Regions from separate parts of the Homo sapiens genome. Here region 2 is linked to region 1. Evidence: promoter capture Hi-C in human tissues and cell types (Jung and others, 2019). All regions are on one chromosome and are shown on one strand. The core of a region is centred on a gene start or on the middle of the fragment in contact, and the rest is flanking DNA. Distances in the headings are between cores, read along the strand shown. Region 1 holds the start of C20orf173 (chromosome 20 open reading frame 173). Region 2 overlaps PHF20 (PHD finger protein 20).

Region 1 (6,996 bases), core at 813-3,312:
CAGGAGGCAAGGGGAGGAGTCAGAACATGTATAGTCTTTTTTTTTTCTGAGATGGAGTCTCGCTCTGTCACCAGGCTGGAGTGCAGTGGCGCAATCTCGGCTAACTGCAACCTCTGCCTCCCGGGTTCAAGCGATTCTTCTACCTCAGCCTCCCGAGTAGCTGGGACTACAGGCATGCCTGGCTATTTTTTGCATTTTTAGTAGAGATGAGGCTACCACCATGCCTGGCTATTTTTTGTATTTTTAGTAGAGATGGAGTTTGACCATATTGGCCAGGCTGGTCTCGAACTCCTGACCTCATGATCCACCCGCCTCAGCCTCCCAAAGTGTTGGGATACAGGCATGAGCCACCACGCTTGGCCTACATGTAGAGTCTTGAAAGCCAGGCAGAAAACTTTAGACTCCATGCTGAAGGCATTGAGGAGCAGGAATTTTAAGAGAAGAAGATACAAGAATCTTTCCTGCCGGGGCACAGTTGTGCAAGACACAGAACAAAGCCTTGGGCCCCAGGGATGACCCTGACCCTGGTAAGACAGCCAGTTGTCCTGGTTGCACCTGGGGAGGAAGGGGGAGGGAACTGACCTGGGGCCCTTCCCACAGCAACCCACAGCCACATCCTACCCCTTTTCCTATTCCCCCTCACCGTGTCTTTGCTATCTTCCACTCCACTAGGGAACCAGACCATCTTCCAAAATCTGAGAAAGAATTGGAGGTGGGGGAGTTTGGGCCACAAGACCTGGGAAAGTCCTGCAAGTGTCCCCAGTAAGCCAATAGAAGGTCTTCCCAGAGCCCCTGCTGTTACTCCCTGCAGTGACCTCCCCTCACCCCCACACAGAGAATGTCTGGGGACACCTCCATCACCTTATCACTTAGAGCATCTGAAGTCCACACCAGGTCAGAGAGCTTCCGCAGTAGCATCTCCAGCTGCATCCAGGAGCCCTGGTCGCTGGCATTCCTGGGATAGATGAAGCATTGTGTGTGGTTTGGTTCCCCACGTCCATCTCAAAGCCCTGGACTTGGGGCCTGCTTCATCTTGGGAAGGGGAGCAGAAACTGATGGAACTGTGGGGCAGGCCTGGCCTTCCTGCTCCCGCCCTCTCCCCAGCACCCACCTGAAAACCACGGGGTATTGGTCGATGTCGTTGCCAAGGCTGGAGCCCTGCGGGATCTGTGGGCGCCCCAACAGCACACAAGTCCCACAATAGAAATCAAAATGGCTCACCGAGAGCCTGGGAATCCCTTTAAACAGCTTCCTCCACAATTTCCCAAGCTCGCTCCCTGAGTTCATGCCCTGGAAACAGCAAGAGGGAGATTGGGGGCTGGGCCCAGGGGAGAGAAAACAGAGCTGGGTGGGTGAGATCTCCATCCAGAGGCTGTGAAGACAGGGCCAAGGGCAGGGATTTGGGCGGAAAGTGGGAGATGGGTGAGGCCCGGAAAGCATGGGGGATATGGCCGGGCCCAGTGTTGACCACTGACCAACCACCAGAGCACAGTGTCAGAGGTCATAGACTCTCTTGTCCTCATCAGGTACCCCATAGTCTTCCTGGAGCACGCATCAAGCCAGTTCCATTCGTCGGCTGTGTGGTGGCAGGAGGAGCAGTTGAGGGTCTCAGAAGGGCAGCCACACTTCCCGGAACTGAACCAAGGGCAGTCGCAATGCTGTGGTACCAAGTACATTCGTTTTTCCTGGGGTGCTGATTCAGGTGTCAGATCCAGATAGGGGGTCATCAGCCAGAGGATGAGCACCCAAAAGACCCACAGGACAAAAATCTGCCAGCGCTTCATGTCTGGCCCAGGCGGTGGCTCCCGTGGTGGGCCGTAGACTGGCTTCTCTACCTGTAAGGATGAGGGGCTGAGGCCACAGACAGCACCAGCTTCCCTCTGTCCTGTCGGCCTCCACAACTCCCCATCCCACCACCTTCCACCTCCTTCCAACCCCTCCTCTCCTGCCTCACTATCCATTTGCTCACCCTCAAAACGGTCTCTGACTGGGCATGGGGTGGAAGAGGCCAGGGCAGAGAGACAGCATGTGGCTAGTCCTGAGAGGGGAAGGAATACCTCAGTGGGGGCCTTGCTGTCATCCCAGTTATATCATAGATCTCATCACAAAGTACACATTGTGACCTCCCTCCTTTAGCCTGCCTGAAAAAAGCCACCACCCTACCCTTTCTCTGACACCGAAATGACCTCCACTGGATGTAAGATTCATGAGGACAGGGGCTGACCTAGTCTCTCTTCTTCACCTCTGCAGCTCTAAGACTTAGAATCATTTAATAAATATTTATGGGATAAATAAACAGGGGTTGAGAGGGAACTTTTTTTTTTTTTTTTGAGATGGAGTTTTTGCTCTGTTGTCCAGGCTGGAGTGCAGTGGCATGATCTTGGCTCACTGCAACTTCCGCCTGCCTGGTTCAAGCGATTCTCATGCCTCAGCCTCCCAAGTAGCTGGGACTACAGGCATGCGCCACCACGCCTGGCTAATTTTTATATTTTTAGTGGAGACAGGGTTTCGCCATATTGGCCAGGCTGGTCTCAAACTCCTGACCTCAAGTGATCCGCCCACCTCAGCCTCCCAAAGTGCTGGAATTACAGGCGTGAACCACCATGCCCAGCCGGGAACTTTATTTTTAAATTATTATTATTATTATTATTATTATTATTATTATTATTATTATTTTGAGACGGAGTTTCACTCTTGTCGCCCCAGCTGGAGTGCAGAGGCACGATCTCGGCTCACTGCACCCTCTACCTCCCGGGTTTAAGTGATTCTCTTGCCTCGGTTTCCCAAGTAGCTGGGATTACAGGTGCCCGCCACCACGCCTGGCTAATTTTTTTGTATTTTTAGTAGAGACGGGGTTTCCCCATGTTGGTCAGACTGATCTCGAACTTCTGACCTCAGGTGATCCGCCCGCCTTGGCCTCCCAAAGTGTTGGGATTACAGGCATGAGCCACTGCACCCCGCCCCAGCCTGGAACTTTAAATATACTTGTGTGTGATGCCCTCTCTGGAGTTGTGTGACATCAACTCAATCCTCTCTTGTAGTCTCTAGACCCCATATCCAACAGCCTACTGAATTGCCACTTAGATGGCTCAGAGACATCTCACCTGAATAAGCCTGAGACTGAACCCAGGATTTTCCCTGTAAACCAACCCTTCCCAAAACTTCTCTGTCTCTTTTGTTTTGTTTGAGACAGAGTCTTGCTCTGTCACCCAGGCTGGAGTGCAGTGGCGCAATCTCAGCTCACTGCAACTTCTGCCTCCTCCGGGGTTCAAGCAATTCTCCTGCCTCTGCCTCCCGAATAGCTGGGATTACAGGTGCGTGCCACCAAGCCCGGCTAATTTTTTGTATTTTTGGTACAAACGGGATTCCACCATGTTGGCCAGGCTGATCTCAAACTCCTGACCTCAGGTAATCTGCCCACCTCGGCCTCCCAAAGTACTGGGATTACAGGCGTGAGCCACTGCACCCAGCTTCAAAACTTCTCTATCTCAACAAATGGTTCCACCACGTACCCAGTTATTGAAACCAGAACTCATGTGTTATTAATTCCTCCTACTCCTATGATACCCAAATTCTTTTTTTTTTTTTTTTTTTAGGACAAAGTCTCACTCTGTCACCCAGGCAGGAGTGCAGTGGCACAATCTTAGCCCACTGTAGCCTCTGCCTCCAAGGTTCAAGCAATCCTTTCACCTCAGCTTGCCAAGATGCTGGGACTACAGAAGTGTGCCACCACGCTAGGCTTATTTATTTATTTAATTTATTTTTGAAACAGAGTCTCACTCTGTCGCCCAGGCTGGAGTGCAGTGGCACAATCTTGGCTCACTGCAACCTCTACCTCCCAGGTTCAAGTGATTCTCATGCCTTAGCCTCCCAGGTAGCTGGGACTACAGGCGCACAACACCACACCTGGCTCATTTTTGTATTTTTTTGGTAGAAACGGGGTTTCACTGTGTTGGCTAGGCTGGTCTCCATCTCCTGGTCTCAAGCAATCCGCCCACCTCGGCCTCCCAAAGTGCTGGAATTACAGGCGTGAGCCACCGAGCCTTGCTGATTTTTTTTTTTAAGTAGAGATGGGGTTTACTGTGCCAGCCCTGTCTCGAACTCAGCTCAAGTGATCCACCCTCCTCGGCCTTTCAAAGTGCTGAGATTACAGGCATAAGCCACTGAGTCTGGCCTCAAATCCATTTTTTAATTCGTTTCTATTTCTAAGTCATCTTCTTCATCTCCACTGCCACCCCCTTAATTCAATTGTAGTCTTGTAAAGATAGTAAAAAAATGAAAATGTTTGAGTTGTTTTTAAAGTTTAAGAAAAAAACAGAACATTTTGGTTTTTAAAAAAAATCAAAACATTTTATTCAATGGGATAAGAACAGTAAAATTCTTCATCTTAACTAGTGGAAAGCTGCACTGGATATTGTATAGCTTTTAAATCAATTCACCCAAATATCTGAGTAAGGTGTGTAGGCTAGTTAATTATATCATACCAACGTCAAGTTCCAGGTTTTGAAAAAGTACCATATGGGCTGGGCGCGGTGGCCCACGCCTGTAATCCCAGCATTTTGGGAGGCAAGGTGGGCAGATCACCTGAGGTCAGGAGTTCGAGACCAGCCTGACCAACATGGAGAAACCCTGTCTCTATTAAAAATACAAAATTAGCCAAGCATGGTGGCGCATGCCTGTAATTCCAGCTACTCGGGAGGCTGAGGCAGGAAAATTGCTTGAACCCGGGAGGCGGAGGTTGCGGTGAGCCGAGATCGCACCACTGAATGTGATTTTAGCTGGGCAAAAAGAGTGAAACTCTGTCTCAAAAAAAGAAAAAGAAAAATTACTATATGTATTATATGGTAAGACACTACCATTAAGAGAAAATGAAGGCCAGGCACAGTGGCTCGTGCCTGTAATCCCAGCACTTTGGGAGGCCAAGGTGGGGTTTGAAGCTTGAAGCCAGGAGTTTGAGACCAGCCTGGGCAACACAGCAAGACTCTACACACACACACACACACACACACACACACACACACACACACACACAAAATTAGCTGGGCTTGGTGGTGTGCGCCTTTATTCCTAGCTACTTGGGAGGTTCAGGTGGGAGGATCACTTGAGTCCAGGAGTTAAAGGCTGCAGTGAGTTATGATAGCAGCACTGCACTCCAGCCTGCGTGACAGAGCAAGACTCTGTCTCTAAAAAAAAAAAATAAAGCAAAAATAAAGAATAAAATGGGAAAATGGATGATGGGTACATGGGAATTTTCTGTACTATTTTTACAATTTCTTGTGTGCCTATGGTTTTTTCAAAATGAAAAGGTTTTAAAAATTATCTACCAGCCTGGGCAACGTAGGGAGACCCTATCTCTATAAAAAATATAAAAATTGGCCATTGTGGTCCCAGCTACTCAGGAGGAGACTGAGGTAGGGAATACTTGAGCCCAGGAAGTCAAGGCTTCGGTGATATGTGATTGCACCACTGCACTCCAGCCTGAGTGACAGAGTGAGACCTTGTCTCAAAGAAAAAAAATCATTTAGGAAAAGATGTATAGCAAGTTTTATTGCTATTTCATTTACATCAACTGCTACAATTTTTTTTTCTTTTTTGAGATGGAGCCTTGCTCTTTTGCCAGGCTAGAGTGCAGTGGCATGATCTCAGCTCACTGCAACCTCTGCTTCCCGGGTTCAAGAGATGCTCCTGCCTCAGCCTCCCGAGTAGCTGGGACTACAGGTCCGAGCCAGCACGCGCAGCTAATTTTTGTATTTTTAGTAGAGACAGGGTTTCACCATGTTGACCAGGATGATCTCAATCTCTTGACCTTGTCATCTGCCTGCCTTGGCCTCCCAAAGTGCTGGGATTACAGGTATGAGCCACTGTGCCTGGCCAACTGGTATAATTTTTAAAATTTTTGTAAACTCATAAAATTTACCATTTTAACCATTTTAAAAATATTTTGGCCGGGTGTGGTGGCTTATGCCTGTAATCCTAGCACTTTGGGAGGCTGAGGCAGGCGGATTGCCTGAGCTCAGGAGTTCAAGACCAGCTTGGGCAATATGGTGAAACCCTGTCTCTACTAAAATACAAAAATTAGCCAGGCGTGGCGGTGTGTGCCTGTAATCCCAGCTACTTGGGAGGCTGAGGCAGGAGAATTGCTTGAACCCAGGAGGCAGAGGTTGCAGTGACCTGAGATCGCACCACTGTACTCCAGCCTAGGCAATGGAATGAGACTCTGTCTCAAAAAAAAAAAAAAAAAAATATATATATATATATGTGTGTGTGTGTGTGTGTGTGTGTGTGTGTGTGTATATATATATATTTTTATTTTATATAATATATATAAAATTTTATTTTAAGTTCCAGGATACAGGCCAGGAGCAGTGGCTCACGCCTGTAATCACAACACTTTGGGAGGCCAAGACAGGGGAGGGGGATCACAAGGTCAAGGGATTGAGACCATCCTGGCCAACATGGTGAAACCCCATCTCTACTAAAAATACAAAAATTAGTTGGGCATAGTGGCGCGTGCCTGTAATCCCAGCTACTCAGGAGGCTGAGGCAGGAGAATCGCTTGAACCCAGGAGGCGGAAGTTGCAGTGAGCTGAAATCGAGGCACTGCACTCCAGCCTGGTGACAGACTCCATCTCAGAAAAAAAAAAAAAAAAAGAAAGTTCCGAGATACATGTGCAGGTTTGTTACGTAGGTAAATGTGTGCCATGGTGGTTTGCTGCACCTATCAACCCATCACGTAGGCATTAAGCCCTGCCTGCATTAGCTATCCTGATGCGCTCCCTCCCACTGGCCTGCCCACCAGGCAGGCCCCAGTGTGTGTTGTTCCCCTCCCTGTGTCCATGTGTTCTCATTGCATTTTATCCATTTTTTTAATGTGCAACCATCATCACTATCTAGTCTCAGAACACATTCATCATTCCAAGCATACTCTAGTGAATAATACATTGAATAAGACTAGAATCAATTACATGACATTCATATCCCCACTACCCATTTTTT
Region 2 (6,733 bases), core at 1,921-4,420, 380 kb after region 1:
AAGGCACAACCCAGAAGTGCCACACATCACTTCTTGTATCCGATAGGCAGAACATCTGCCACCCCTCTCTCAAGGGAACATGGAACATGAACTCTTCCTATGGAAGAAGTGGAGAAATAGTGTTGGGAAGGGCACTGCAGCCTTTACCACATGAGCTAAGAAGAATGCAGGGCTTGAGGAGGGAGGGGTTATTGGAGGGCCATCCTGGGTTGGTATCTGGGTGGGACTCATGGTAGGGGACTGATAGGAGATGAGATTGGGAAGGTAGACATGGTGAAATGACAGTGGCAGACCCTGACTACCACTTCTCTGATAGGCAGAGAGAACCCCTCCAAGCCCATATCTGCTTCTGTCTGCCCTTGAGCTACCACCCCCTTGTGCAGATCAGAACATGCTCTGGTCAGTGCTTGTCCCAGCCTCGTGGCTGAGCTCTGTGGTGTACAAGCAGTTACCCCATAGGTGGTGGTGATGCTATTCTTTTCCCTCCTGGAAGCGGCGGTCTGATGACAGTTGTCCCTCTGCTCTCATAAATCAGTGACTGGATGGAATACTCAAGAGTCAGCTGTATGGAGGAGCAAGAGGGCCTCTGGTATTTCTCCTGATGGACACCTGCAGCTTGGGGAGAGGACAAGTGGCCATCCTGGAGGAAAGCCTCACCCTGCTTAGGTGACAAGCTGCTCTCTGATCCAGAGCCTGGCAGGAAGTCACTCTTTGTCCAACCTAGTCAGGGCAGCCGGGAGGAAGCTCCACAGCCAGTACATGCTCTGTGGGTCATGGAACAATTGGTAAAGCTGTCCAGAGAGAGAGTTGACAGCAGACCAGCGACCAGCACTGCTTTCCAGGGAAAGAATATTGCAAGCAAGATAATAACAGCTGACATTTGAGTACTTCATGTGCTGGGCGCTGTTCCAAGTTCGTTACTTGTATTGTCTTATTTAGTTATCAGAACAAACCCTCTGAGGTGGGTGCTGTTATGCCTAATTTATGCAGTTATTCCACTGTGGTCTCAGAGTGTGGTTGATATGATTTCAATGATTTGAATTCACTGATACTTGGTTTATGGCCAAGCATGTGGTCAATTTTAGATTATTTGCCATTTGCAGATGGGTGGAATGTATAGTTTGTCATTGCTGGATTTAAGTCCAGTATTTCTTTGTTTTTTGCCTCGATGATCTTTCTAATGCTGTGTCAGAGGGGTGTTGAAGTCCCCCACTAAAATTATGTGACTAAGTCTTTCTTTAGGTCTGGAAGTACTTGTTTTAAGAATTTGGATGCTCTAATGTTGGCATATTAGGCATCTATAATGCCTAATTTATAGATTAGAAACTAAGGTGCAGATGAGATGGATTAATTTGAACCAATATTTACAGCTCTAGCAGGTGGTGGAGCCATGATTTGAATCTGTTGTGAAGCCCATACTCTCACTTTGAGGCTCTGCTGTCTTTTATGATTCCAGGGAAGAGTGCCTGTCCCAGGCCCTGGAGTGGGAGATAGGAGTGCCTCCCTGCAGGAGACTTCCTGTGCACCTGGCAGTCTGGGGATTTCTGCCTGTTGTCACCTTGTCTACTCCTGTTCCTCAGGGACTCACCTGCCTTAGCTCAGTCCTTGCTGGGCAATTCTCTGTGTCTTTTCTAGGGCCTGCAAGTTCTGCCACTGGAGTTTACAAATGACCACTATCTTTAGCCAGATAACCAGGTATGCCCTAGCATTGGGCAGTTTTCCTCTACATCTTGCCCTCTCTGTCTCAAGGATTTAGGACCTAGATTATGTTGCTGCTTCAGGCAGTTCTGCTGCTGACAAGATAAATTCTGTTAGCATTTCACTAAGCTGATGGGTATAATTACTTTAGTTGGAGGTCACTAAAACCTGAATTTACAAATAAAAACTGGATCAGGGAGCAGTCTGTGTGTGTGTTGTGGAGGAGTGTGGGTGAAGGTACAACAGATAATATCCCTCCTTTGCTGAGATCCTTCCAGTGGCTCCCTAAATCACTCATAGTAAAAGCCAACTTCCTCACAGGGCCCTTCATCATGTTCTGCTGCTAGCCTCCATCTGCTTCTTTCCCTTACTCAACCTAATTCTAATTTCAGTTCCATTGGAGCCATACAGATCTCCTTGCTATTTCTTTATTTCAAATTCCAGTTATTCATTGCTGGCATATAGAAAAGCAATAGATTGTTGTATATTAACTTTGTGTCTTGTAACCTTGCTGTAAGTGCTGTTCTGGCAGTCTTTGTTTTGATCAATTCTTTGGGATATTCTACATAGACAGATCATCTGCAAACAAAGATAGTGTTATTTCTTCCATTTCAATCTGTAGAGCTTTTATTTCCTTTTCTGGCTTATTCCACTCGCTAAGATTTCCAGTAAAATGTTGAATAGGAGTAGAGAGAGAGGCACCTTGCTTTGTTCCTGATCTTAAGGGGAAAGCATCCAATTTCTTACCATTAAGTATGAAGTTGGCTGCAAAGAAGTTCTTTATCCAGTTGAGGAAATTCCCTCCTATTCATAGTTTGCTGCCCCATCAGCTTTTTAGGTTGGTGCAAAAGTAATTGTGGTTTTTGCTGTGACTTTCAGTGGCAAAAACAGCAATTCTTTTGCACCAACTGAATAGAATGTAGCTCTGTGAGGGACAGGGGGTGTTATCTGTCTTTGTTCATTGCAATATCCCTCCTCCCTAGAATGTGCCTGGAACATAGTATATGCATGGTATCTGTTGCCTAAATGAATTGAAACCATGGCTAATAATACGGTGGTAGTCAAACTGTGTAAAAATGAGTTTTGTTTTTATGTTTGGGGAAGACCCTGTTCTCAGGATCAATGAAAAGTAAAAATGACTGATAGCTTTTTTGAAATTCAGAAGGCATCTGACCATGTTTTGCCAGTCTGCTGTCTTTGGGCCTTGGGTTTTTGGTTTTAAAAATGAGTGCTTTTACAAATTGGTCTAAGTTCTCTCCAGCTTTCATGTTTGTTGACTTTCTTTCTAGTTGCAGGGTATTTTAAAAGTTAAGGAGCTCAAATACCCTTAAGTCCTATGTTCTCTAGCCAGTAGATCAACTCTGCCTATAGATTCCAGGCTTGCCAGCCAGTAGGCACAGCCCACTCTTCCTTTCTGATGGTTACCAAGTGCTAATTTGGGAGAGGGGCCTGGGTTGCAGAGGAGACATGGTGCTGGAGAGTCAGACCAATTTGCTTTTAAATACCTATGTGATGTCAGGTGGGTGATTTCACCTCTCTGAGCTTCAGTTTCCCGGCCTGTAAAATGGGAATGATATACACACAAGTTGTTGTAAGGATTAAATGAGATATTTGTGGTTTCCTTGCACACAAGTGCTTAGTTAAAATGGAATCTGATTGTCTACCCTGCCTCACACCTGCTTTGTGGATATCTTGATTCCATATCAGAATCACTTGGAAAGTTTTAAAAATCCTGATATCCTTGAAAACATCATGCTAAATGAAAGAAACCAGACACAAAAGGTCACATATTGTATGGTTCCATATTTATGAGATATCCAGAGTAGATAAGCCCATGGAGTCAGATGCAGGTTGGTGGGGCTGAGGGGAAGGGCTTAGGGGAGGGGAAATGCTGCTTAATGGTAAAGGGTTTTACTTTGGAGTGATGGAAATGTTCTTAGAACTATATCAAAGTGGTCGTACAACATTGTGAATGTACTAAATGCAACTGAATTGGTTGTTTTTCTTTACAGCTGTATCGAGACTTAATTGTACAATGAACTACACATATTTAAATGGTATAATTGGTGAGATTTGACATATGTTTATACCCAACTATCACCACAATCAAGATAGTAAACATATTCCATTCCCTCCCAAACTTTCCTCATGCCCCTTTTTAGTTCCTCCTTCCCACCTCTCCCCTCCCCCTGAGCTCCAGGCAACCACTATTCTGCTTACTGTTACTTGTGGTGTGTTTTCTCTCTTTTTTCTTCCCCCCCGAGATGGAGTCGCTGTGTTGCCCAGGCTGGAGTGAAGTGGCACGATCTCAACTCACTACAACCTCTGCCTCCTGGGCTCAAGCGATTCTCCTGCCTCAGCCTCCCAAGTAGCTGGGATTACAGGCATGAGCCACCACACCCAGCTAATTTTTGTATTTTTAGTACAGATGGGGTTTTATCGTATTGGTCATGCTGGTCTTGAACTCCTGACCCCAGCTGATCTGCCTACCTTGGCCTCCCAAAGTGCTGGGAGTGAGCCAGCATGCCCAGATGGTTTGTTTTCATTTTGCAGACTATTGTAGAAATGGAATCCTGCAGTGCGCACTTGTTTTGTCTGGCTCCTTTCACCCAGCATACTTTGAGATTCACTTATGTTGCTGTTCGTACCTTTTTTTCTATTTTTATTTTTTGAGACGGAGTCTTGCACTGTCGCCCAGGCTGGAGTGCAGTGGCCAGACCTCAGCTCACTGCAAGCTCCGCCTCCTGGGTTCACGCCATTCTCCTGCCTCAGCCTCCCCAGTAGCTGGGACTACAGGCGCCCGCTACCACGCCCGGCTAATTTTTTCTGTATTTTTAGTAGAGACAGGGTTTTACCATGTTAGCCAGGATGGTCTCAATCTCCTGACCTCGTGATCCGCCCGCCTTGGCCTCCCAAAGTGCTGGGATTACCGGCATGAGCCACTGCGCCCGGCCTGCTGTTCCTACCTTTATTGCTGAAAAGTCTTCCATTGTGTGGATACATCATGAATTATTTGTACATTCACTTGATGGACATTTGGGCAGTTTTCAGTTTGGGGCGATTACAACTAAAACTGCTATGAGTCTTCATGTATAAGTCTCTATGTGGACGTAAGTGATGCTTTCTCTTGAATGAATATGTTGTAGTGGATGGCAAGGTCATAGGATATATGTACGTATAAACTCTTGTTGATATCTAAAAAGTAAGGCATGGTGAATTACTTGAAATCCTATAAATATATTTGGTAAGAGAAGAAGAAACGACTGGATTTTTTTGTTTGTTTGTTTTGGAGACAGATTCCCACTCTGTCACCCAGGCTGGAGTGCAATGGTGCGATCTGGGCTCACTGCAACCTCCGCCTCCCCGATTCGAGCAATTCTTCTGCCTCAGCCTCCCAAGTAGCTGGGATTACAGGCATCTGCCACCACGCCTGACTAATTTTTATATTTTTAGTAGAGACGGGGTTTTGCCATGTGGGCCAGGCTGATCTCAAGCTCCTGACCTCAGGTGATTCACCTGCCTTGGCCTCCCAAAGTGCTGGGATTACAGGCATGAGCCACCGTGCCCGGCTACGACTGAATTTTTCTTTCTTTCTTTTTTTTTTTTTTCTTTGAGATGGAGTCTCGCTCTGTCGCCAGGCTGGAGTGCAATGACATGATCTCGGCTCACTGCAGCCTCCGCCTCCCGTGTTCAAGCGATTCTCCTGCCTCAGCCTCCTGAGTAGCTGGGATTACAGGCACACACCACCAGACCCAGCTAATTTTTGTATTTTTAGAGAGACGGGGTTTCACCATGTTGGTCAGGCTGGTCTTGAACTCCTGACCTTGTGATCTGCCCGCCTGGGCCTCCCAAAGTGCTGGGATTACAGGCGTGAGCCACCGCACCCAGCAATGACTGGATTTTTCAATGGTGAAGCTATTAATTTTGAAAACTGATCTCAGTAGAGTGGTAGGTGGGAAGCTTTTTAGAATGTAATTAGGAAAAACTGTGAAGGGAGAAGTTTGGACAGGGAGGATTGACATCTTAAGGAGTTTTGTTGTAGAGTAGAGAGGATAAAGTTTTGGTATTTAGAAGGCATGAACTGTTCATTTAAAAATAATTTTATGTTATATGAATGGTACCTCAATTTTTAGAAAAAGAATGAAACAAGCAACAGAATCCTGGCTGGATGCGGTGGCTCACACCTATAATCCCAGCACTTTGGGAAGCTGAGGCGGCTGGATCACCTGAGGTCAGGAGTTCAAGACCAGCCTGGCCGAAATAGTGAAACCCCATCTCTACTAAAAATACAAAATTTAGCCAGGTGTGGTGGCGTGTGTCTGTAGTCCCAGCTACTCTGGAGGCTGAGGCAGGAGAATCGCTTGAACCCGGGAGGCGGAGGTTGCAGTGAGCTGAGATCGCGCCACTGCACTCCAGCCTGGGTGACATGGCGATGAAAACAACAAAAATCAGATCCCCAGGTGATTCCAGTATGTAGCCAGGGTTGAGGAGCAGTGATCTAAGTAGAGTTTTGCAAACTTGTCTGTAAAGGGCCAGATAATAAATACTTTTCAACCTTGGGGTTGAAAGGTCTCTGTCCTCACTTTTCAGCTCTGCTGTTGAAGTGTGAAAGACACGTAACCAATGAACATGGCATGTTTCACTAAAATCCATTTACAATGACGGGCCATGGGCCAGAGTGTGCTGAGCTGGACTGAAAGGCTAAGTGATGGAGGCGTGGCTCTGCCTCCAGACTGGAGCAATCTGCTCCAGACTTCCCAGGCAGAGCCAGACCCATCGGACATGCTTGCTTAGGAGAAGAATAAGCACCCCAGCATTGAAAACAAAATGTTAAAATGCCAACATTTGTGTTTAATTCTAGCTACAAAAGACAAGGAAAAGAATAAAGAGAAGAAATTCAAGGAGTTTGTGAGAGTGAAGCCAAAGAAGAAAAAGAAAAAGAAAAAGAAAACCAAACCTGGTAATTTTTTTTCCTGAGGGTTTCACTTAGGTTTCCTTACTATGAATGGGGAGGGGTTGCTTTCTCCCATTATGG

Evidence for each region. Contacts are between HindIII fragments. The study calls those that stand out against the background at their distance.
Region 2: a contact is called between a fragment that was not itself captured here and the fragment with the promoter of C20orf173 in region 1, in 1 of the 25 tissues and cell types used here (spleen).

The regions. Positions count from the first base shown.
Region 1 is chr20:35,527,590-35,534,585 of GRCh38, forward strand. C20orf173 (chromosome 20 open reading frame 173) reads right to left here and starts at 2,063. Exons shown (of 6, transcript NM_001145350.2): 1 at 1,970-2,063; 2 at 1,476-1,835; 3 at 1,112-1,290; 4 at 862-955; 5 at 644-695. The coding sequence starts at 1,784. The coding sequence ends at 669. The HindIII fragment of the contact is 31,043 bases long and covers 1-6,766 here.
Region 2 is chr20:35,906,690-35,913,422 of GRCh38, forward strand. PHF20 (PHD finger protein 20) reads left to right here. Exons shown (of 18, transcript NM_016436.5): 11 at 6,560-6,658. Among named protein-coding and RNA genes, the nearest start is that of SCAND1, 44 kb to the right of the region's middle. RefSeq lists an enhancer at 1-434. The HindIII fragment of the contact is 7,158 bases long and covers 1-6,733 here.